Linked DNA regions of Homo sapiens: regions 1 and 2 are each linked to region 3. Evidence: promoter capture Hi-C in 16 types of primary human blood cells and fetal thymus (Javierre and others, 2016). All regions are on one chromosome and are shown on one strand. The core of a region is centred on a gene start or on the middle of the fragment in contact, and the rest is flanking DNA. Distances in the headings are between cores, read along the strand shown. Region 1 has its middle 15 kb from the start of GLRX5. Region 2 has its middle 7.7 kb from the start of SNHG10. Region 3 holds the start of AK7 (adenylate kinase 7).

Evidence for each region. The method cuts DNA at HindIII sites, captures the fragments that hold promoters and counts their contacts. A CHiCAGO score of 5 or more calls a contact.
Region 1: a contact is called between a fragment that was not itself captured here and the fragment with the promoter of AK7 in region 3, in 1 of 17 cell types (neutrophils). The highest score is 6.0, in neutrophils.
Region 2: a fragment that was not itself captured here is called in contact with the fragment with the promoter of AK7 in region 3 in 1 of 17 cell types (neutrophils); the score reaches 5.5 in neutrophils.

The regions. Positions count from the first base shown.
Region 1 is chr14:95,548,943-95,552,004 of GRCh38, forward strand. No RefSeq gene overlaps it. Among named protein-coding and RNA genes, the nearest start is that of GLRX5, 15 kb to the left of the region's middle. The HindIII fragment of the contact is 902 bases long and covers 864-1,765 here.
Region 2 is chr14:95,525,681-95,528,752 of GRCh38, forward strand. No RefSeq gene overlaps it. Among named protein-coding and RNA genes, the nearest start is that of SNHG10, 7.7 kb to the right of the region's middle. The HindIII fragment of the contact is 1,692 bases long and covers 589-2,280 here.
Region 3 is chr14:96,390,657-96,393,674 of GRCh38, forward strand. AK7 (adenylate kinase 7) reads left to right here and starts at 1,472. Exons shown (of 18, transcript NM_152327.5): 1 at 1,472-1,603. The coding sequence starts at 1,499. RefSeq lists a silencer at 1,032-1,541. The HindIII fragment of the contact is 12,427 bases long and covers 1-3,018 here.

The DNA of each region.
Region 1 (3,062 bases), core at 65-2,564, 840 kb before region 3:
ATTGTAATCCTGGGAAACTAGCAGCACACTTCCTGTTATTCTGGCTTCTTAAATTCTTTTGTTTTTTGTTTGTTTTTGAGATGGAGTCTCTCTCTGTTACCCAGGCTGGAGTGCAATGGCGCGGTCTCGGCTCACTGCAGCCTCTGCCTCCTGAGTTCAAGCTATTCTCCTGCCTCAGCCTCCTGAGTAGCTGGGATTACAGGCACCTGCCACCATGCCCAGCTAATTTTTTGTATTTTTAGTAGAGACGGGGTTTCACCATGTTGGCTAGGCTGGTCTCAAACTCCTGACCTCGTGATCCACCCGCCTGGGCCTCCCAAAGCCCTGGGATTACAGGCATGAGCCACCGCGCCTGGCCTTTAAGTTGTTTTTTAACTTTTTTCCATGATTCCTTAGTAAAGTCTCCTTAAAATGATTCTTGGGAGAGCAGAGGGCAAGGGGCAGTGTCAGTTACACCTGACTAAGTTACTTCAGTTCAGGTGCACTTCGTACAAAGTGTGGTGGGATGTCCATGTCCTAATCCCTGGAATGTGTGACTGTGTTACCTGGGGTAAGTTTAAGCTGTGTTTAAGTTCAGGATCTTGAGATAGAGAGATTGTCTTGGATCACCTGGGTGGGCTTAATGTAATCACAGGTGTCCTGGGCAGGAGGGAAGCAGAGGTTGGAGTGATGTACTCTGAAGAGGGCGGAAGGGGCCACAGGCCAAAGATCGCAGGCAGTCTCTAGAGCTGGAAAAGCCAAGGAAACGGATTCTCCCCTGGAGTCTCCAGAAAGAACACAGGCCATGATTTTAGCCCAGTGAAAGTCATTTTAGACTTCTGACCTCCTGCCCTGTAAGATTAAAAATTGGTGTTAAGCCACTAAGCTTGTCATTTGTTACAGCGGCAAAAGGAGACTAATACACCTGGCTGCCTGGATTTTATGGTGGATGCTTACTTGGTATAAGCAGACAGGGGGAAGGGTCAAACAATTATTGAGCATTTAGATCCGTAATTTGTTTCTCACCAAAGATCTGCAAATGTGGGATATTCTCTCTTCCTTTCAGATGATGACACAGAGACTGGGAGGGGGTCAGGTTACTTGTCCAAGGTCACTACCTGGTGGAATTTGAGCTGTGATCAGATCCATATTGTAGCACCCTTCGGAGGGCCGGCTCAGTGAGTGCAGCCGCTTAGTGCAGCTCTGGCTGTGGTGTCCAGAGTGTTCGCCCTGCAGCCCTGAGAAGAACTGAATTTGAGCTTCAGTTGCCTGTTGAAAGAGCCAGGGAGGCCAGGAATTTTGGAAGTTGCCCCTGGCCATCCACTATCAAGTATGTGAAGGAAGCAGAGGGTCCCACCTCTGAGGTCAGACAAATGGAAGGTGAATGCAAATGATGCCTCCTTGCAAATGATGCCAGGGAAAGCCTCCTGGGCCCCGTGTGTTGTGCGGACAGGTGGCCAGGCCAGAGGTCCCACTGGACTTCACTCTGAAATTCCAGACAGCAGGAAGTAAACAAAGTGCTTTACGAGCGAGTTCCCGCGGTCTGCTGGTCTTTCCCTGCACTTCCGTCCGACCTCGGTCACAGCCCTGGGTGGGGTCAGATATTTCTACCCATACTCAGGGCCACCTGTTGCCCCAAGTTCTCACTTCCTGGCAGTGTCCCTCTGCTAGCCCTTGCTGCTGCCCCCACCTTCCTCTGTCTGCCCGCCACCCCCCAGCCTTTTCCTTGGTCACAGTTGTCCTTTTGTTACCTGCGGTTATCAGAAACATGGTCAAATAGGGTATAAGCTTTTAGTATCCCATTCATTTGAAATTTTAACCTCGTTTTTAATAAAACAATGCATGCATATAATTAGTCAAATGATACTTTAAAAACTACAGTAATAATGAAAAACAGCACTCTCCTGCCTTTTGATCCATGGGTCCTGCTCTCTATAGGAAACAAATTTCCATTTCTTAAGCAGTTTCTTCTGTTTCCCTCCATATTTCATTTTCCTTTCTCTTCCTTTCTTTTTTTGTTTTGTTTTGTTTTTTGAGACAGGGTCTCACTCTGTTGCCCAGGCTGGAGTGCAGTGGTGCAATCACGATTCACTGTAACCTCGACTTCCCAGGCTCAGGCGATTCTCCCACCTCAGCCTCTCAAGTAGCTGGGAATACATGTGTGTGCCACTACGCTCAGCTAATTTTTTGTATTTTTAGAAGAGATGGGGTCTCACTGTGTTGCCAGGCTAGCCTCAAACTCCTAGGCTCAAGAGATCCACCCACCTGCTGGGTGGACCCCAAAATGCTGGGATTACAGGCGTGAGCCACTGCACCTAGCCAATATTTTTTAATGTGCTTATATTGCTATTTCTTTGCTAATAAATCAGATATTATCTAATCTCTTTGCCATTTTGATAGATAAGAATGCTCTCATATAATCATCAATCTACCCTACTTCTCACTGTTCCCTATACAATTAGCGCAATCATCAGTCTTTACATTATTATTGACAATATATATGTTAGTGAAATAAATATATATAAATAAGCAAATGCTGTATTCCTTTTTTTAACTTTTATCTCCATTTATTAAAAATTGCCTTTTTTTAGTTGTTTATTTTCTATTTGATTATTTTGTATTGGATTTTTATACAGTGCACAGGCATCTGCCAAATACCTGTCAATAAAGTTTTTCAACAGAAGCATCAGATAACTCATAGTAGCCCTTGCCCCCTGCCAAGCTCCCTCCTGGAATCCTCCACCCTCCAGCTGCCCTCTGATGTCTATCATCATCCTTGCTCTTCCTGTGTTGAGTTTTCTGTTCCCTGTGTCCCGCATCTTGGTCTTTGTGCTTTATTCCTTTGCTCTGCTGGAGCACATCCTGCCAAAGCTTCCTAAAGAAGATGCATGGGTGGTTCACTTTTTGAGACCAGGTCGTTGGAAAAGGTTTCCTTACTCCCATACTGTTACACAACTTGGGTCTGCCTGCTCAGCACAGTAAGACCAGATATCCACACTGAGGCTTCGCAGCAGTAGAAAGGAAGCCATTTATTTGCAGGGCACCATGCAGGGAGGACCAGGAAGCAAATGCTCAAATCCTGA
Region 2 (3,072 bases), core at 185-2,684, 870 kb before region 3:
AGAAATGTCCAAAAGTAATTCCTGAACTTACCTTTCCAATCCTCCTTCCCCCTCCCGCTGTATTCCCTGCATCATCAAGTGCAGTCAGTGGCTAAGCAAAACCCTAGGAATAAGCCTGAATCTTCCCCTCTTCCTCCCAGCCCCCTCCCCACAGTCAGCCAGTCACCAAATGCTGTCATCCCTACCTTCAAAGAACTCAGCTTGCAGCAGTGCCCTTCCCCCATGCCCCCACCCCAATACCTGCAAAGGTTAAATCTGATGACCCTCTCCTAAGTGGCCCCGTTAGCTCGGCCACCTCCAATCCATCAACACTCCCGCAAGGGTGATCTCTCAAGCACTCTGCAGCTTACACTCCTCCTGGGACTCTCCCTCATCCAGAGGAGGAGAGCCCAGTCCCTTACCATCTGTCCTCCCCTCAGCTATGTCCAGTCCTGCATTTCTCAAGAAACGGCCTGGCATTCTCCCAGTGGACCCAGGGGCCTCTGTGCCTTTGCCCTGGTTGCTCCCTCTTCCTGGAATGTCCCTCCTTTTTATATAGAAGCACTTTACCCTTCTCTCAAAACTCAGTTCAAGTGTCACCCCCTACTAAGCTTTTCCTATCCCTTAGGCGCTGACTGAGCTTTTTCCGAGAGCTCCATTCCCTTCTCCAGTTCTCGGGGGCATTCTTGCATCTGTCCCCATCACAGGACTGCGAGGTCCTTGGGATTTGGCAGCCTCTTACTCCACTCTGTATCCTGCTTAGCGCAGAGCCTGTGGGTGCCTCACTGAATGTTTCTCCACCTCCTATGGCACCTGTGCTCGATATTATGAGTTTCACACAATTTGGGATTTGCTGAGATCCTGCTCTGTATTGTTCACCAGGTTATGTATTCTTTATTCAAGAATTATCTATTGAACATATAGTAAGTGCCAGGGATGGCACTAGGGCACCAGGTTACAAAAATGAATCCTACCCAACTAGAAGTTGATGGCCTAGTGTGTGCGTGGTGGGGGTGGGGGGAGGAATAAACAGATACAATTACAATGCATACACTCCCTGAAGAGGTTCTGATCCCCAACCACTGTGAAACAGGGCTGGGTAGTAGCACAAGTGAGGTGGTTATATTCTTTGAGGCCTCTAATTGTGTGTCCTGGGTTGACATCAGCATTTGCAGAACCACTTTATGGACGGCCCTTTCTGACGTAACGTCGGCTGAGCTCTCTTATCAAGCCCACTGGTTTACACAGTTAGAAAAATTCAACTTTACACCAGTATTATTCAGTCCCTCAACACCTGATGAAATGTACTAGGTATTTCCAAGGTGTCTTCCAAGTACTAACATGAAGTATGTAACAGAGTTAGAATAACTTTATCTGGCACAATGGAGTAAAGTATTCCTTTTTTTAACATAACCTTAAGCTGTGTGTGTGTGTGTGTGTGTGTAGTTTTTGTTGGCAAGCTAAAATAAACTGCATGTTTCCTTGACTTCCTATTCAGAGCATGGGGAAAAGAATTTCTTTTTCTTGCTCGGAAGCATAATACAAGGCACTAGTGCACAAGGAACAGTCACGGGTGAAGACTGTTCGCCCCTCCTTACATCGAATGCCCCAGAATGCTGCTTTTTAAGAAGAATCCCAGAATGTCTGCCTCTTAGTGCTTCACCTTTCACTTACTGTTCAGTCATTGTTTCTTTCTGCTTTTAGTGTTAGCCTTTTAAAATTTACTGCTTCTGATCTGTTGTGGTTATATTAGAAAACTAAGTAAGTTAGCTATTCCCTAAAATAAGAATAGCACTTGGGTAAGAACTGAGAGACTTTTCCTAGAATTGAGCAAAATGATTAATTCCCAGAGAATGTATAATTACAGGGGCAGCCCTTATTGGCTCTTGCCCCAGCTTCCTCAGTAAAATAGACTAGTGCCCCCTACCTGCCTTGCCAGGAAAGACAGAGACTCATTCTATTATAAAATGTATTTCTCAAAACCAGAATGACTTTGAAAGATGTGTTATTTTTCTGAACACAAGTAAAAATTCCTTCAAGTAAGAGGATATTATTTGCTCTGTAATTAGACAGCCAATAGTATGTGTGGATTATCACGGATCTGTGGCTGCATGGTATGAAGAGATGAACCAACGGGAATATCCCATTGATTTCACATCGACTAGACTGGCATGTCCCCTCAAGGCTGCACTCATACAGCTATGATATGAAAATGCCAGATCACCGTCTATCTGGAGAGGGAAGAAGGTTTGCCAATATAACAGCTTCTCCTCAAGTCACCCAATTTTGCCTATGTAATAAAGCTTATGCAAAAAAAACTCCTTTTTTTTTAAACAAAATGTAATTGTTTTATGATAGTCTTTTTTTTTTTTTTTAAGATGAACTTTTGCTCTTGTTGCCCAGGCTGGAGTGCAATGGCGTGATCTTGGCTCACTGCAACCTCTGCCTCCTGGGTTCAAGTGATTCTCCGGCCTCAGCCTCCTCAGTAGCTTGGATTACAGGCACCCGCCACCACGCCCGGCTAATTTTTTGTATTTTTAGTAGAGATGGGGTTTCACCATGTTGGCCAGGCTGGTCTCAAATTCCTGACCTCAGGTGATCCATCTGCCTCGGCCTCCCAAAGTGCTGGGATTACAGGCATGAGCCACCACACCCAGTCTTTTGATAGTCTTTTATTAAAACTCTTTGAAACTGTGGCTCACTAAAATTTGATATCAATGAACAATATCTCACTAGGATACCCTTTCAAAAAATATTAAGTTTAGAATTAGCAAATAGGATTTTTCTGGCTGTAAAAGGAGAACAAAAAAATTTAAAATCCTCCATTTTTTTTTGCCAGCAAAGGAAAATGAATAATTAATGCCTCATCCCATTTCTAACTTGAATCATCCCTCCCCTCCCTGCAATTAAACTGGGGTGAATTTCTTTTTTGCTAGATGAACTGTTTTCTATTTATTTGTTTATTTCTGAGACAGAGTCTTGCTCTGTCGCCCAGGCTGGAGTGCAGTGGTGCGATCTTGACTCACTGCAACCTCCACCTCCTGGGCTCAAGCAATTTTCCTGCCTCAGCCTCCCAAGTAGCTAGGACTACAG
Region 3 (3,018 bases), core at 222-2,721:
GGCGCCTGTAGTCCCAGCTACTTCGAAGGCTGAGGCAGGAGAATCGCTTGAACCCGGGAGGCGAGGTTGCAGTGAGCTGAGATTATGCCATTGCACTCCAGTCTGGGTGACAGAGCGAGACTCCATCTCAAAAAAATAAATTAAAAATAAAAAGAACAAGAACGCTGGCGTGGTGGCTCATGCCTGTAATACCAGCACTTTGGGAGGACGAGGCAGGAGAGTTTCTTGAGCTCCGGAGTTAGAGACTAGCCTGGGCAACAAACATAGTGAGACCCTGTCTCTATTAAAAATAATAAAAAGAACGAGAAGAAACCACGCACACACAATTGCTGCAAGTGTTAAATATTTGCATTTAAGGAGTTAATGCTTAAGGCATGAAAACAGTTCAATATGATCAGGCTATTCCAAGGGAACTGCGTATTCTTAGTCCACCACAACCTTTATGGTCCAGTGATCACCGAGGTGAATGTTATCTTTTAATTTGTGGATTTATCTCAGCAACTGCATGTATAATCTCTTGTGGAACGGTCAAGTCTAAATTTCTTCCCTTGGTGAATGTGAGCGAATCCCGGGCGCCTACGGGCTCTGGTCGCCCCCAGCCGACACCAGGGGTCTTCCCGGAACGTGCGTCTGGAAACAACCCCCAAGGGAGCTGAGCCGGCGGACCAAGCCGCACCTGCCGCAAGGCGGGACCACGCTAGCGTCGCTCGGGTGTTCGGGAGCCCGAAACTCCATGGCAACAGCTTTTCTTCGCAGCTGAGGCTTACGTCCCGTCGCCCCGGCCAGACCACCCCATGGGAGCGTGCTGAGTAACTCCCACGTGTCGGGGAGAGGCCTAGGCTGTGGGCCATTCCCTCTTCTTCAGAATTCTCATTATTTTTAGTCATCGGGTCAAGCGGACACAGGGATGTGTTTCCAGACTTTCCGAACAATGGAGATTAAAAAGGCACAGCAATCACATGGCCCCCCGGGACAGACGCCCAGGGAGCTTCGGAAAGAAACCATGCACTGCCCAAGGGCTCCCAGTGGGCAGCAAGCCAGGGTGAGACCCGGGCTGCACGCGCGGCGCCGCGGAAAGCACTCGCAGGGACATCCGCCTGGCGCCCAGCAGCCGACAGCGCGCGCAGTTGCGAGCCCTGAGCCCCGCTTCGCCCGGCGCGCCCCGCCCAGCCCACTGCACTACACACCCCGCCCTGCCCGGCATGCCCCGCCCAACCCCCCGGCACGACTCGCCCCGCCCTACCCGGCACGCCCCGCCCAGCGACCGGCACAGCCTGCCCCGTCCCGCCTGGCACGCCCTGATTAGCGCCGGGCACGACACGCACCGCCCCGCCCGGCACTCCCTGCTTCGCCCACGACACGCCCCTCCCCGCCCGGCAAACTGCCCGGAGCCAAGGCCCCGCCCCCAGAGAGAACCTGCCCCGCCTCCCTGGCCCGGGCCCCGCCTCCTTGGCAAGCGAGTGGCGCTTTCACCTTAGCAACCAGCGCGGCTCCCACCATGGCTGAAGAAGAGGAAACTGCTGCTCTCACGGAGAAGGTTATCCGGACCCAGAGGGTGTTTATAAACCTGTTGGATTCCTACAGCAGCGGAAACATCGGGAAGGTGAGCGGCGGCGGCGGCCCAGAGCCTCACGCCAGCTCTCAGCTCCCAGCCCTCGGCCCCCGGTCCGCAAACCCAGCGAGGGTCTGCGCCCCAGGGCGCTGTCGGGGCCTTTCCTCAGGGAGGGTCCCGCGTCCTGGGCACCACCAATGCCCCCTGGACCCCAGTCCGCACCCAGGCTGGTCAAGAGATTCTACATGGAAGCTCAGGTGTCTGGAAATCACTGGTCCATCCCCTGTTCCTCCTTTTAATGAGGGGAAACTGAGGCTAAGAGGCAGGGACTTGCCCAAGATCACATAGAGAGTTGAGGCCAGAACCTGGACAGAGACTCCAGGTCTCTTGCCCCCTCCTAGGTTCTCTTTCTACCCTTCCATCGATTTTGAAGCAGGCAGCTAAACGAGAAAATAAATCAATTTTTTTTTTTTGAGACGGAGCCTTGCTCTGTCGCCCAGGCTGGAGTGCAGTGGCGCGATCTCGGCTCACTGCAAGCTCCGCCTCCCGGGTTCACGCCATTCTCCTGCCTCAGCCTCCGAGTAGCTGGGACTACAGGCGCCCGACACCGCGCCCGGCTAATTTTTTGTATTTTTAGCAGAGACGGGGTTTCACTGTGTTAGCCAGGATGGTCTCGATCGATCTCCTGACCTCGTGACCCACCCGTCTCGGCCTCCCAAATTACAGGCCGAGTAAATCCAAAAGGGATTACAGGCGTGAGTAAATCAAATTTTTATATTGCCCATGAAGCGTTTTTCATTCATCCATCCCTTCAATATATGGTTTTTGAGCATCTATTATGGACCAGACACTGTTTGGGTCCCCGAGTTCCATTAAGTTTCCTCACCTTTCTGTGTCTTTATCCCTGGAAAATGAAGATATTCAGAAAAAGGGCTCTGGGGCCCTTCATGCTAATATGATCAGTTGTCAAAAGAAAGCCATGATTTTATCATTCCCTGTGGGTAGGACCCGTCCATCTGAATTCTGTCCTCTAGAGCTACAGAGAAATCTAATCTCACCCTGGACAGACTTCTCTGAGGCTAATGACTGCACTTTCGAACAGGACAAATCTGCTTAAAATAGGATGAGGCTACAGTACGTACAATCTGTATTAGTTTTCTAGGGCTGTGGTAACCAATTGCCACAAACTGGATGACCTTATAAAACAGAAATTATTCTCTCGCAGTTCTTGAGGGCAGAAGTCCAAGATCAAGGTGTCAGCAGGGTTGGTTTCTACTGGAAGCTCCAGGGGAAGAACTGTTGCTTGCCCCTCTCCTAGCTTCTGGTAGTTGCCAATAATTCTTGGCACCCCTTGGCAGTAGACTCCAATCTCTGCCACCTTCTTCACATGGTGTTCTCTCCCCTGTGTCTCTGTGTCAAAACTTCCCTCTTCTCATAAGGACACCAGTTGTTGGATGAGGACTCAC